Linked DNA regions of Homo sapiens: region 2 is linked to region 1. The links are contacts of gene promoters, found by promoter capture Hi-C in blood cells and fetal thymus (Javierre and others, 2016). All regions are on one chromosome and are shown on one strand. The core of a region is centred on a gene start or on the middle of the fragment in contact, and the rest is flanking DNA. Distances in the headings are between cores, read along the strand shown. Region 1 holds the start of SPATA18 (spermatogenesis associated 18). Region 2 overlaps DCUN1D4 (defective in cullin neddylation 1 domain containing 4).

Evidence for each region. Contacts are between HindIII fragments. The CHiCAGO score rates a contact against its expected background, and 5 or more counts as called.
Region 2: a fragment that was not itself captured here is called in contact with the fragment with the promoter of SPATA18 in region 1 in 1 of 17 cell types (monocytes); the score reaches 7.8 in monocytes.

What each region holds. Positions count from the first base shown.
Region 1 is chr4:52,050,052-52,052,751 of GRCh38, forward strand. It overlaps SPATA18 (spermatogenesis associated 18), which reads left to right and starts at 1,253. Exons shown (of 13, transcript NM_145263.4): 1 at 1,253-1,740. The coding sequence starts at 1,654. RefSeq lists enhancers at 902-1,403, 1,404-1,903, 1,696-2,045 and a silencer at 1,226-1,525. The HindIII fragment of the contact is 3,697 bases long and covers 838-2,700 here.
Region 2 is chr4:51,899,145-51,901,844 of GRCh38, forward strand. DCUN1D4 (defective in cullin neddylation 1 domain containing 4) reads left to right here. Exons shown (of 11, transcript NM_001040402.3): 8 at 126-234. Among named protein-coding and RNA genes, the nearest start is that of DCUN1D4, 57 kb to the left of the region's middle. The HindIII fragment of the contact is 1,755 bases long and covers 536-2,290 here.

The sequences.
Region 1 (2,700 bases), core at 3-2,502:
CATGAATTATCTTACTAAGTTTCATAATAATCCTATGAGAGAATTATTTTCCTTTTACAGATGATGAAACCAAGGATTACAGGCTAATTAAGGTGCTCACAGCAAGGAAAAATCCTTTACCTCTAATTTATCTGACATAAATGTTCCAATATGGGTTTTTATGAATAAGTAAATGGGACTGTTCAAAGATTCCAAATGCCTGTAGAAATATGTAATTATTAGGTCCAAATTGAGAAATTTGAAGTTTTTCTCAATTCATTTTACATATATATATATATATATATATATATATATATGAAGTTGTTTAATGAATATTTAGCTGTTTTGTTGAGTGGGTATTTTTAACATTAGAAATTATTATTCTACTCCAATCAAATAACATGTTATACCCCTATAGTCCTTATTTTGTGGTCTACAGAAAATAGTAGGAACACAGGCTCCAAAACTGAGCCTTTCATTTTCATTAGCAGATAGTAAAGCCACTGTAATCAAGAGAAATAAAAAATGAGAGGTGGTGAAAATTCTTGATTTTACAATACTTGAATATATGCAGTGTTCACAGATTTTCAAGTACCTACAGAGATGAAACTAAGTTAAACTAGCTAGCTAACCAGCTGAGGCTCTGCTCCCCACCGCTGTTTTAATGAATGGATAGGAATGATTTATAATCAGCACATTTTTTGATGGTATATAAAAGAGCTTGCTTCGAAAGCGCTTAAAGATGGTCGAAATGGTTTCCTAAGTAGTTGAACCTGTTTCTGTAGCAGAATACACACTTTTGAAATAGTGCCAAACTAGGTCAAGAAAGTCCCAATTAGAGAATTCAGAATTAAATGAAGCTTTAGAGTGCTCAATGACTCTAAAAAAAAAAGTACTAAAATACATACTGCCAAATCTTATCCAAACCTGAGGGATTAACTTTAATTTGTGAACATCCTGGAGCTAAACTCTATTAACTTGGGTACCCACCCAGTGGGTCAAGGAACAAAGTAAAAGCTAGAAGTAAGAAGTACTGAAATTTTAGTTACAAGTTTCATACAGGTAAACCCAAGGCGCTACAAATGAAGAATTAAAGGAATGAAAGGCGAAAGAATAAAGGGGCCAAAGAGGTGATCTCCTGAGAGCCTAGCCCCAAACTTCTATAGAGACTTAACTTCTGCTTTTCTGGACACGCGTGGGCACCCAGAACCCCGAATGGGGAGGAATGCTGTAGACGCCCTGCTGCCCTCCAGCCCGCGCGGCTGCGCGTCTCAGTCCACCCCTGGGGCGCGCGGCTGTCACCCAGGGCGGGGCGGCGCGGGCGTTGCCACGACGCGGGCCGCGCGCGTCCCTGGCAGCCAACCCGTCCACGTCAAGGTTTGTTTAATAATCGCCAGGGTATCTATGGCCGGGCTCAGGCGGCTGCTGGGGAGCCAGGAGACCGCGCGGGACGGCGGATGAGGCGCGGCGGCTGCGGCCCAGGGCACCTCCCCTCTGGCTTCCCGAACCCGGCCAGGTCCGACCCGAGGGGGAGGATGGAAACACCTGCCGCGCTCTGAGCCCCCCAGAAGAGAACACCCTTCCCGCCATATCACCCCACGGTCCTGCGGAGGCCACCGCCTGGTCCCCCCAAGTCTCCATCGCGCAGCGTGGGGCCGAGAGGAATAGTGAGCGATGGCGGAAAACCTGAAAAGACTGGTCTCAAACGAAACTTTACGAACGTTGCAGGAAAAGCTAGACTTCTGGCTGAAGGAGTACAACGTGAGTCTGGGTGAAAAACCCCCGGGGTTCGCCCTCCCATAGGTTCCAGCACAGCCCTTGTCGGGGATTTCTTAGGGCTGGAGTTGGTGGCCACTTTGCAAAGCCTCCGCGGTTGCGATTCCTAACCAGGATCTCAGCTTTCGACCGGGATCGCTGGGGAAGGAAGGACATGTGTGTACATGCCCTTGTCTCAGAGCTTCGGGAGGCGGCGCGCAGGCGGCCTGCGGAGCGCAGCACTAGGCTGCGGAGACTGGAGAGTGCTTCCAATCAGTGGTAACTAAGGACGCCGGCGACCTAGCAATAGGGAAGCCCTGCTGTCCGCGGCTGGTCTGGTCATGCCTGCCACTCTTTCCCATCCCCCTTGCCAGCGCAATCCACACCGCCTGCTTCCCCAATCCCGAATTATTTTTTACTACAACCCTCTCCTGCCCAGGGTTTGTATCAGAATGGATTTGTATAAACACACACCCAGGAGTTATTTACCCAGAAATCAGCGAAACGGACACTTGTTAACGTTGCGGGTTTCACTTGCGTGCTGGTGGGCCTGGAAATTGAGGCACAGTTCCAACACCAGGGCGGATTCAGGCCTTTTTCCAGGCATTTGTGAGAAGCCAGTATTCTGTCACCAAACCCATGAGCACTTTTCAAATCTCATTAATCCCTACTCGCACCCTGCCTCCCCATAATTCCCCCCTTCCCCCAAATAGAACGGTGAGTGTTGAATTTGCTTTACATTCGGTCGGTCCGTCTTAAATAGGGATTTCCCCTCTTACATAATAAGTGGAGCGGCCAGGCAAAAGAACTGTGGACCGGAAATTAGCCCCCCCTTGTTTCTACATTTGGCTCTGCATAGAACTAGCTGAATGACGGAGTCAAATTATTTAACTTCTCTTGGTCTTAGTACCTCATCTGTGAAATAGCAGAGATTGGTCTAGATGATATGTAAATTTCCTGTTCAGA
Region 2 (2,700 bases), core at 163-2,662, 150 kb before region 1:
TTATGGATGTGTTTCAACTTCAGGGATTTGTTCTTTCCTTTGGTATTGTGTTTATATTACTGCCTCTATTAAAAAAATAAATAAATGAACTCAGGTCATAATTTGCCTTTATTCTGTTTTTCTAGATGTGATACAACAGAAAAACTCAGAAATACTTTGGATTACTTAAGATCATTCTTAAATGATTCTACAAACTTTAAACTTATTTACAGATATGCGTTTGACTTTGCACGGGTGAGTTCTCTGGAGCCTATCCAGATGTTTCCCTCTCTTCCCTCCCCTTTTTAAATTGCCTTTTGAGGTTAGTTTTTACATGCCACAGCAAAAAAACTTGAATAAGTTAACTCCCAGGATGCTAGTTAGTATTTCTTTCTACATGTATGCTTTTGAAAACTAAGTTTGATTCTGGTCAAACATTCTGTAGGTCAGCAAAAAGCTCTAGTGGCAGACGTTTACTGGCTCTTGGAATTGGCTTAAAAGTGACATGGGCATGCAATACACACTGTCTTAAATGTCTCTTAGATAAGGTTGGAAAAGCTTTCCTTCTCACAGAACAACAAACCTTCTCCTGTTGAGTTTACTAGAATAAGCTAATCATATCTAATTCAGATTCACCGTGGGTGCTATTATTGTATTTGGAAATCATGTGAATTTTAGACGTAAGCTAATTTCTTACATTACTTAATGTAATACATTACTTAAATGTATTTTTCTAATCATCGTTTTGAAAAGCAGTTACCCTATTTGTCACATAGTGAGTCAAGTCGAAGTATGTGAAAGTGGTTCCCTTGGAGTGAAATAAAAATCTTACTTTTCAGCCTAGTCACCATACATAGAGAATTTTGAAGCACCAGTTGGCATCATACTCAATTCAAACAAAATCTATATCCCATACAATTACAATTTATTCTGAAATGATGTTTTCTGTTAGGTCTGTTTGTTTAGTGGATTCAGGTGACTAGGCTTTCTTGTTTGATTGCACTTTTTTAAATTATTTTTTTTTAAGGCAGAGAACTCGGTGACAATTTATTCTTTTTTCCTTACCACCATATTGATTTTTTTCACTTTTTACTCTCTTTGGCTCTGCCAGTTCAGCACCAAAGGTTTATTTGATGGTGAATTTTGATGCATCTTGCAATAACGTTCTCTGTGGTGCCCTCATTCATGCATTTTCCTATTATTACAACCTTCTAGTTAAATCACACCATGCATAGAAATTTATTGATGTTAAAAACGATAAGGTGAAATTCAGATACAGTGTTTGATAAAATGGCATTTGCATAATAATATATAAAAGTTACCTGCCAGGCCAGATGCAGTGGCTCATACCTGTAACCCCAGCACTTTAGGAGGCTGAGGCAGAAAGATCACTTAAAGCCAGAAGTTTGAGACCAGCCTGGGTAACATACCCTGTCTCTATACAAAACAAATAAAAAAATTTAAAAATTAGCCAGATATGGTGCCTATAGTTCTAGCTACTCAGGAGGCTGAGGTAAGAGGATTGCTTAAGAACAGGAGTTCGAGGTTAAAAAAAGAAAAAGGAAGTTATTTGCCAGATGCTTTTTTTTGCTAGATGCTTTTAGAATAGTTGACTGGTTTCTAGGATTATATAGTTTATTTCATGAGTTTTTTTTTTCCTCCCAAAGTCAGCTGTTTCTTATAGTATGGGTAGAAATTCATTTAGAAACATCATACCTTCTCTACCCAAATCAGCTCTATTTTCTAACTTCCTTGACTGGGGGAGTCACAGTTCTCCCAGATATCCAATGTGCTTTAGATCTAGGTTCTGCTTTACTCCTCCCTGGCTAACGTCCTGTTCTGGGGCAGTCACCCTGGCACATCTCATGAGTGCTCTTTGGCCACCTTTTTCTTGGTGCCTCCACTGCAGCCTCACCGGTGGAGGCCTTGCTTCTCCTTACCAGCCCTCTTCTGGTAGCCTCATGTCCACATTCTTTCACTTCTTACCCTGTGCTCACATCACTAGGGTGTCATTCGTCTTCCTTCAGCCCCTGGGTCACTCAGCCACCTTCCTGCTCCCCACAGCCTCTAGTACCTCCCCACTGTGTTTATATCGACCCAGCACTTCCCTGTGTATACGACACAGTTGTTCCCATGTCAGCTCTGAGGGACAGCCGGGGTGGTTTCAGTCCACTTTACAGAGTAAGAAAGTGCGCTTCAGCAAAGGGGAGAAATGGCCACGTTGTTCATAGTAGATCCATGACTCAAACCTAGGCCTTCTGTCTCCAAGTCTAGTATGTGGGTTACTCCAGACCCTCACAACTAAGTCCCAAGCTTCCCCACTCAACGCCTGCATTATGATGAAATTGCACTAACGGTTGCTCACTGGCCCTGCTTCCTGGCCTCTCTGCATTCTGCCTTTGGGAGTGCTGGGCCCTTGCCTAGAGCCCCGTTTGCATTAGCACAGTTGTACCCATCCAGGCCCTGGGTCTGAGCCATGTGCTTCTGCTTCGACACAGCCTCCTGGTCAGCCTGTCAGGGATCAGCCTGTCGGGGTGGGATTGTGCTGGTTTCAGTTACATACCCCTGGTGTCTCCTCTACTTGGCTTTGGAGTTTGAGTACAGGCCTTAATTTTTCCTGGCAGATTGAGGGACTCTGTAATTTCTTTCTTTGTACATCCTTTGTTTTAAAGGAGAGTCTCAATTAATATTGGTGAATTAAGCCCTTTCACATAACAATAA